Regions from separate parts of the Homo sapiens genome. Here region 1 is linked to region 2. The links are contacts of gene promoters, found by promoter capture Hi-C in blood cells and fetal thymus (Javierre and others, 2016). All regions are on one chromosome and are shown on one strand. The core of a region is centred on a gene start or on the middle of the fragment in contact, and the rest is flanking DNA. Distances in the headings are between cores, read along the strand shown.

Region 1 (4,353 bases), core at 307-2,806, 550 kb after region 2:
AAGAACTCCTTTAGTATTTCTTGCAGGACAGCTGTGCTAGCAATGAATTCTCTTGGTTTTTTAAAAAAAATCTGGAGATGTCTTAATTTCCCCTTCAATTTTGGAGTATAGTATTGCTCTATATAGACTCCTTGATTGACAGTCTTTTACTTTCACTGCTTTGAATATGTCATCCTATTGTCTTATGTTCTCTTTTCCTTGATTTCTAATGGGAAACAGCTATTAATATTACTGAGAAGCCATTGTATATGAATCATGTCTTACTTGCTGATACCAAGTTTTTTCATCTTCATTCTTTAAGAGGTTGATTATGTTGTATTGAGGTATGAATCTTTTTAGTTTATTACACTTGAAGTTCATGTGTGCAAACCAATATTTTTCAACAAATTTGGGAAGTTTACAAGCATTATTTCTTCAAATATTGGTTCTTGACATTTCTCTCCTCTCCTTCTGGGTCTCCCATTACATATATATTGGTACTTTCAGTAATTTCCCACAGGTCTCTGAAACTCTGTTCATTTTTCTTTGTTCTTTTTCTTTTCTGTTCCTCAGACTGGATAATTTCAATTGACCAATTTTGAAATTTGTTGATTTTTTATGTCTTTTCATATCTGTTACTGAGAACCTGTAGTGAATTTTTCTTTTCTGTTATTAAGCTTTTCAATTTTATAACTTTTATTTTAAAGTTGAATTTTATAATTTCCATCTCTTTATTGATGTTTTCTGTTTGGTTAGACATTGTTCTCATACTTCTTTAGGCACACTCTCCTTTTGGTCTTTGGGCATATTTAGACTAAATGATTTAAAGTCTTTTCTAGTAAGTCCAATATCTGGGCTTCCTTTAGGACAAATTCTATTGATTGTTTATTTTTATGTATGTGTGTTGGCAGTACTTTATTTCTTTGCATGACTTATAATTTTTTACATTATTGAAACCTGGACATTTTAATAGGTATTATGTGGCAAGTTTGGAAATCAGATTTTCCTACATGTCCATGGCTTGTTTTTATTGTTGCTTATTGGTTATTGTTACCTGTTTGCGTACTTACGTTTCTTTTTTTTTTGAGACAGAGTCTTGCTCTGTTGCCCAGGCTGGAGTGCGGTGGTGCGATCTTGGCTCACTGCAAGCTCCGCCTCCCGGGTTCACGCCATTCTCCTGCCTCAGCCTCCTGAGTAGCTGGGACTACAGGTGCCCACCACCATGCCCAGCTAATTTTTTTGTATTTTTAGTAGAGACAGGGTTTCACCATGTTAGCCAGGAAGGTCTCGATCTCATGACATTGTGATCCACCCACCTCGGCCTCCCAAAGTGCTGGGATTACAGGCATGAGCCACCGCGCCCGGCTCTTACTTACATTTCTAAGGCAATTCAGTAAAGTTTGTATTCTTTGTCATGTATGGGCATTGATGCCACTACTCAGTTAGCTTAGTGGTTAGCTAGTAATTAGACAGGTTTCCTTAGAGGTCTGGAATCAATAAATCTTTCATTTGCTGAAGGGCTCTCTGTGCATGTTGGGTCATGTCCTCAAAACTTAGGCAGCTTGTAACTCCATCTAAGCCTTTTCTTACTGCCTACATAGATCCTCAAGGTAAGCAGAGATGAGAGCTGAGGGCCTTTCCAGGTCTTCCCTGAGCTTGTGTACTATCCTGGGAGTACACATGGTCATTTAGATCCCTGAGATTTTGTCAGAGCCTTCTGATGTCCTTCTAGACATCTTATTTTCAAACTTCTATTTTATTTTCAAGGTTTTTGGTTAGTCCTTTGTTTGCCTCAGCTGTTGTTAATCTCCTCAGGCAGCCACAAAGTTAAAACACTTGCCTGTAATTGTCTCCAAAAATAACATCACCTGACAGAAATCCTCTGAAGTGAGTGAGCTCCAAGGCAGCCTCTTAATGAGTTTTTCAAGAGAACCACCAGACAAATAAGAAATGATAATATTGGCTGGGTGCAGTGGCTCATGCCTGTGGTCCCAGCACTTTGGGAGGCCAAGGCAGGTGGATCACGAGGTCAGGGGATCGAGACCATCCTGGCTAACATGGTGAAACCCTGTCTCTACTAAAGGTACAAAAAGCTGGCTGGGTGTGCTGGCAGGCATCTGTAGTCCCAGTTGCTCGGGAGGCTGAGGCAGGAGAATGGCGTGAACCTGGGAGGCAGACCTTGCAGTGAGCCAAGATCGTGCCACTGCACTCCAGCCTGGGCGACAGAGCAAGACTGTGTCTCAATAAAAAAAAAAAAGAGATAATATTTTGGGAATTATACTTTGAAAGAGCTTCATCTCTATTCTGGTCCCACTGATGACTGCTAGGCAGCACCAGCAATGCAGATGAGTATTTTTCAAGGCTTTTTCTGAGCTAGAGAGTGGGGGGTGGGACCAGGGAAAGTTAAAATGTCACAAAGCTAACTTTTCTTACAGCCATCCAGCCATTTTTCTTGAGTAAACTCTCCCCAGGTCATGGGAAGCTTTTAATTCTTTTTTTTTTTTAAATTTCTACATCCACTTCAGTCACACAAAATCTTTTGATTCATTTCTGGAGATCTGAAAAAGGTAATTCTGACCATTTAAATAATTTTTTCATTGCTTTTATGGAAGGGTGAATTTTTGAGGGTCCCTGCTCTGCCATTTTTGCTGATGTTACCACCATCAAGATTTTCTTCAGCAGGGGTCTGCAAATCTTTCCTAGAAAGGTACCAATTGTAAATGCTTTAGGTATTGTGCTTCAGATTGTGTTTGTCACAGCTACTCAACACTGCCATTGTAGTACAAAAATAGCCATTGTAAGTATATAAATAAATGGCTGTGTTTCAATAAAACATTATGTATAGAAAAGTCACAGACTGGATTTGGCCCAAGGATCATATTTTGCCAACCCCTCTTTTTAAAGATAAAAAACAACCTTAGAATCCTTCTCAGACCACACTGCTCTTTAGTCATCTTCTTTCTGTTCTCACAGAGGTTGTTTTTCTTCCAACTGAGATACACTAAGATGTTTAAACATTTAAGACATATTTAATTCTGCATTTTTACTATAATTCAGAAAATTTGTTTTTGTTGCTTTCAATTTTTATTTACATTTCCCCCCTGAATTTACATTATTACTGCAACCAGAGAACCAAATCAAAATAAATTGATTCATTATCCTCCAGAATATGGGTTATGTATTAGATTCCAAAGGAAGTAAAACAAGTTTAAAATATACAAAGTTTCAATTAACTTTATTTTTGTAGAGTGTAGAACACTGTCTTACTTACATAAACTATCCAGTGGTTAAAAAAAGGTGCTGATCAGGAAATGGAGAGTGAATGGGAGCATTAATGGGAATATGTAGAAAGAAATCTTACACTAAATAAAATATCCAATAGAAGCTTTGATTGGAGACCACAAGAGGCCATATATCTTTTGAGTCAAAGAGAAAACTCTTGGGGTTAAAAAGAATACAGTTAATTTCTATATCACTGATATATAGTAGATTACCAAAAAAGGTAATGCAGAGTGAAAAATAAATTCTAATAGAATCCCAGTGAACTGTAAGGTAGGAGGTATCTTATCTCTAGGTAGGTAGCTGCTTACCAGGTATATTTTGATGACTACTAAGAAGAGCCTGTAGATGTCCTTCTACTTCAGCTCTTCCTGTGATTTCATAAATACTTATTTCACAGGCCTTTTCCTGATGAGTAAAATAATGCAATATATGTGTAATTTTTTGCTGTCTATGATCATCTTCTTCCTGATTCCTAGTTTGATTTAGACTTCCAAGAAGTTAGAATGTACAAGACATTGGGTCCCAGTAGAAAGAAAATGACAGATGTAAGTAATGGTGAAAAAAAGGGAAGTAAAATGACATTAGAGGAAGATAATCCCATATCACAATTTTGCCTGTGGTCCTTCTAGTAGTTGAATTTCTTTGTCTCTTAGGTTTGCATTTGCTATCCTTGTCACTATCTTCTTCTCCTTCTCCTCCTCTTCTTCTTCCTCCTCCTCTTCTTCTTCTTCTGAAAGAAAGAAAGAAAGAAACATGGCTATATAGTGTTGGAGCAGCCCTTCCACTGAAAACAACTATAAAAGAAGGAAGAACTATGAGTTTTTGATGGGATAGCAGAGCTACCAAAGCAGTAAAGATTTGATGAAACAAATTCCCAGAAAGAAGGTAATCCTAGGATTTGAGCTCAATATTTGGCATAACTTATATCTTCAACGCATTTGCTGATAGAGAAAGCAGGAGCTGGAGATTTCAGCTGAAAACCAGAGCAGAAAGCAGTAGCCAGCATCCGAGCAGAACATTTGCCAGTTTCACAAAACTGGAGAGATGAATATTGAAGATCACAGCTAGACAAAGACTACAAATAATGTAAAG
Region 2 (3,965 bases), core at 347-2,846:
CACCCACTGTGTCTTACTTTCATACCCTCATCGTCCGGAAATGCAGTACAGCCTGTCCTGTCCAGCCTTGCCCCAGGTGACTGTGGTCACTATATTACATGCTCATCTGTGTCGTGTGTGTCTGTCATGAGCGTCTCAGGCCCATAAGGGCAGGGATGCTGCGGGCTCTGTCCCCTGAATATCTGCCCACAGGGTGCTGAGGATCCCTTGGCCTTCACTTTCTGCCCAGTCACCGACCTGTCACCCACACCTGTCTTTCCTCCTTGTTTTGTGACAATGAAAAAAGTTTTTCTGCTTCCTCAAAATTTATTTTCAGACAGGCGCAGTGACTCACGCCTGTAATTTCAGCACTTTAGGAGGCCAAGGCCACAGGATCACCTGAGGCCGGGAGCTCAAGAGGAGCCTGGCCAACGTGGTAAAACCCTGTCTCTACTAAAAATACAACAATTGGCCAAGTGCGGTGGCTAACGCCTGTAATCCCAGCACTTTGGGAGGCCGAGGAAGGTGGATCACCCGAGATCAGGAGTTTGGGACCAGCCTGGCCAACATGGTGAAACCCCGTCTCTACTAAAAATATAAAAATTAGCCAGGTTTGGTGCTATGCCTGTAATCCCAGCTACTCAAGAGGCTGAGGTGGGAGAATTGCTTGAACCTGGGAGGTGGAGGCTGCAGTGAGCCAAGATTGTGCCACTGCACTCCAGCCTAGGCAGCAGAGCAAGACCCCATCTCAAAAAAAAAAAAAAATAGCTGGGTGTGGTGGGCACCTGTAATCCCAGCTACTTGGGAGGCTGAGGCAGGAGAATCAGTTGAACCCGGGAAGAGGAGGCTGCAGTGAGCTGAAATTGCGCCACTGCACTCCGGCCTGGGTGACAGAGTGAGACTCCATCTTAAAAAGTTTGTTTTCTGTGTCATTTTATGGTGCGGAATCCAAGTTCCATTTTGTAAGAAACTGAAACTTTATGAAATGATTAGTTCCTTATATCATGAGTCATTGCAGAAAAAGTGAATTCTGTTGGGTTCTACAGCACAGGTGGGACGCGTGTCAGTGGCTTTGCCCACCTGTTACGGCCACCAGCGGGTTGGTCCTTGTCACCCAGACCCTCGCCACAGTCAGAAGTGGCTTGGCTTCACTGGTGACTTGCAGTGACACTCTGGAGAATCCACGATGCCCTGAGTCACCCTTTGCTTCTAGGACAGTGTTAGGCGGAAACACCCTTCACTGAGAGCCTGAGTTCCCGGAGACCTGGTTCCATGACAGCAGCTGGTCCTCCACGAGCCCTGGGGTGGAACTGCCTCCACTTCCCCTCTGGGAACAGAAGAGCCTGGTGCCGTCTCCTGGCAGGGATACTGCAGCTCACAGCTGGCTCTGTGGGATCATGTCCCCAAGGCTGACCGGTGATGTCAGCGCAGCTGCCCCTTTCCCAGGGACTGGGGTTGTCTGGTAGAGAGCCAGGCGGGGCTCTGTCTCCACTTATTGCCCAAGGTCCCTGGGTAACAGGGAGGGTGGGCTCAGGCCTCCCTGGCTGGGGGAGCGGGGGGGGCTGGGCTCCCTGCCCCCCCAAGGTGGTAAAAGGGGCCCCGCAGCTGGCAGGCCCCACACCTTCTGAGGCAGCGGCATGGCTTCCCTCTGGCTCCTCTCCTGCTTCTCCCTTGTGGGGGCCGCCTTTGGTGAGTGCTGGTGCCCGAGGGGTCTGTCCTGAGGGAGCCCTGAGCCTGGCTGAGAGGGGGATCTGAGTCCCCTGCTCTGCCCCCTGGGGCCTCATCCCCAGCACAGGTAACCTGAGGGCTCAGGAGAGGGTGCATTCTGGGGCTTTCTGAGCCCACACAACCTGCTCCAGGAGTGGGAAGGACGATGCTGGTCTCTGCCATGGTCTGAGGCTCCAGAAGTGGCTGGGGTGGGGGTGCCTTGTGCAGGGTAAGGTGTGGCCCCAGGAGACCTCCCAAGGCCTCCACCGGGGTTTTTATTGTGCTGGGTACTTGTCAAGCATTTTCTTCCTTTCTTTCTTTTTTTTTTTTCGAGACAGAATTTCACTCCTATTGCCGAGGCTGGAGTGCAATGGTGCAATCTCCACTTACTGCAACCTCCATCTCCTGGGTTCAAATGATCTTCCTGCCTCAGCTTCCCGAGCAGCTGGGACTACAGGCATGGACCACCAACCCTGGCTAATTTTTAGTAGAGACGGGCTTTCACCACGTTGGCCAGGCTGGTCTTGAACTCCTGACCTCAGGTGATGCCCCCGCCTCGGCCTCCCAAAGTGCTGGGATTACAGGCATGAGCTACTGTGCCCAGCCGTGTTTTCTATTTTTTAAAAGAGAAATAGTAAAAGAAAATACAGAAAAGAATATGACATCCTTGTATCTACTGTCAGAATTCAGCAAATCTTTTTGCACATTTGCTTCAGATATTTCTAAAACAGATTGTACTCAGGCTTCCCTTTTCTCCCTCCTTCCCTCTCTGGAATGTGAGCTTGATTCTGAACTTTCTATGAATAATTGCAGTGTGAGCTTATACAATTGTACTACATATTTTTATACATCTATACATAAGGTTTCAAAAAGGTTACATCAATGGAACGGTATTCTATCCTGTTTTTGGTTTTGGTTTTGGTTTTGGTTTTGAGACAGGGTCTCACTCTGTCACCCAGGCTGGAGTGCAGTAGTGTGAGTTTGCAGCCTCAAACTCAAGGGCTCGAGTGATCCTCCCACTATAGCCTCCCGAGTAGCTGGCGCTACAGGCACGCTAAGTTTAAAAACTTGTTTTGTTTTGTAGAGATGGAGGTTTTTTTTGTTATTTTTTTTTCTTTTCTTTGAGACAGAGTTTCACTCTTGTCACCCAGGCTGGAGTGCAGTGGCGTGATCTTGGCTCACTGCAACCTCCGCCTCCTGGGTTCAAGCATTTCTCCTGCCTCAGCCTACTGAGTAGCTGGGATTACAGGCATGCATCACCACACCTGGCTAATTTTTGTATTTTTAATAGAGATGGGGTTTCACCATATTGGTCAGGCTGGTCTTGAACTCCTAACCTCCAGTGATCCGCCCACCTCAGCCTCCCAAAGTGATGGGATTACAGGCGTGAGCCCCCATGCCCGACCTGGGGTCTTATTATGTTGTCCAGGCTGGTCTCGAAATCCTGTGCTCGAGTGATCTGCTCACCTCAACCTCCCAGGGTGCTGGATTACAGGTGTGAGCCACTGTGCCTGGCTGATGTAACTAATACTCCATTCTACCTCCATTCTACAACAATGTGCTTTTTCCCTACTCAAATCTTCTCACTTCCTGCATGTTGACGTGGAGTTTCAGCTCATTCACCTGCATTTTTATAATGCGTGCTCTGTTGTGTGAGTATGCCACCATCTAGTTCTCTTATTTATTTATTTATTTTTTTAGATGGAGTTTCACACTTGTCGCCCTGGCTGGAGTGCAGTGGCATGATTTCGGCTCACTGCAACCTCCACCTCCCAGGTTCAAGCATTTCTCCTGCCTCAGCCTCCTGAGTAGCTGGAACTACAGGCATGAGCCACCACCCCAGCTAATTTTTGTATTTTTAGTAGAGACAGGGTTTCATCATATTGGCCAGGCTGGTCTTGAACTCCTGACCTTGTGATCCACCTGCCTCGGCCTTCCAACGTGCTCTTTCTCATTTTTTTGCTATTACAATACCAGTTTTTGATGCTCTGAAACGTCAGGGAGGCACCTTGCCTGCCTGTGTTCCTGTGGGCAGGAGACGCAGGGGCTGCCTTGTAAGCAGGCGAATATGACCCCAGAAGGGGACAGCTGGTCTGAGGGACGCGGGTGTGCTCAAATGTAAAGCCCAGTTTGTTGGGTTGGCCCGCGCACAGGAGTCGAGAATCTGGTCCTGACATAGCAGAGGCATGGTGGGCGTGTGTGGAACACCTGACTATTTTCATTGTTTTGTTTTCTGCTTCCAATGTGCCATTTTATGGTGTGGAAGTAAAGTCCAGCTG

Evidence for each region. Contacts are between HindIII fragments. The CHiCAGO score rates a contact against its expected background, and 5 or more counts as called.
Region 1: a contact is called between a fragment that was not itself captured here and the fragment with the promoter of CTRB1 in region 2, in 1 of 17 cell types (total B cells). The highest score is 5.5, in total B cells.

Annotation. Positions count from the first base shown.
Region 1 is chr16:75,768,453-75,772,805 of GRCh38, forward strand. All of the region lies in intron 2 of LOC105371348 (a long non-coding RNA gene), which reads left to right. Among named protein-coding and RNA genes, the nearest start is that of CPHXL, 44 kb to the left of the region's middle. The HindIII fragment of the contact is 1,805 bases long and covers 655-2,459 here.
Region 2 is chr16:75,217,392-75,221,356 of GRCh38, forward strand. CTRB1 (chymotrypsinogen B1) reads left to right here and starts at 1,597. Exons shown (of 7, transcript NM_001906.6): 1 at 1,597-1,668. The coding sequence starts at 1,617. RefSeq lists an enhancer at 1,135-1,214. The HindIII fragment of the contact is 15,887 bases long and covers 1-3,965 here.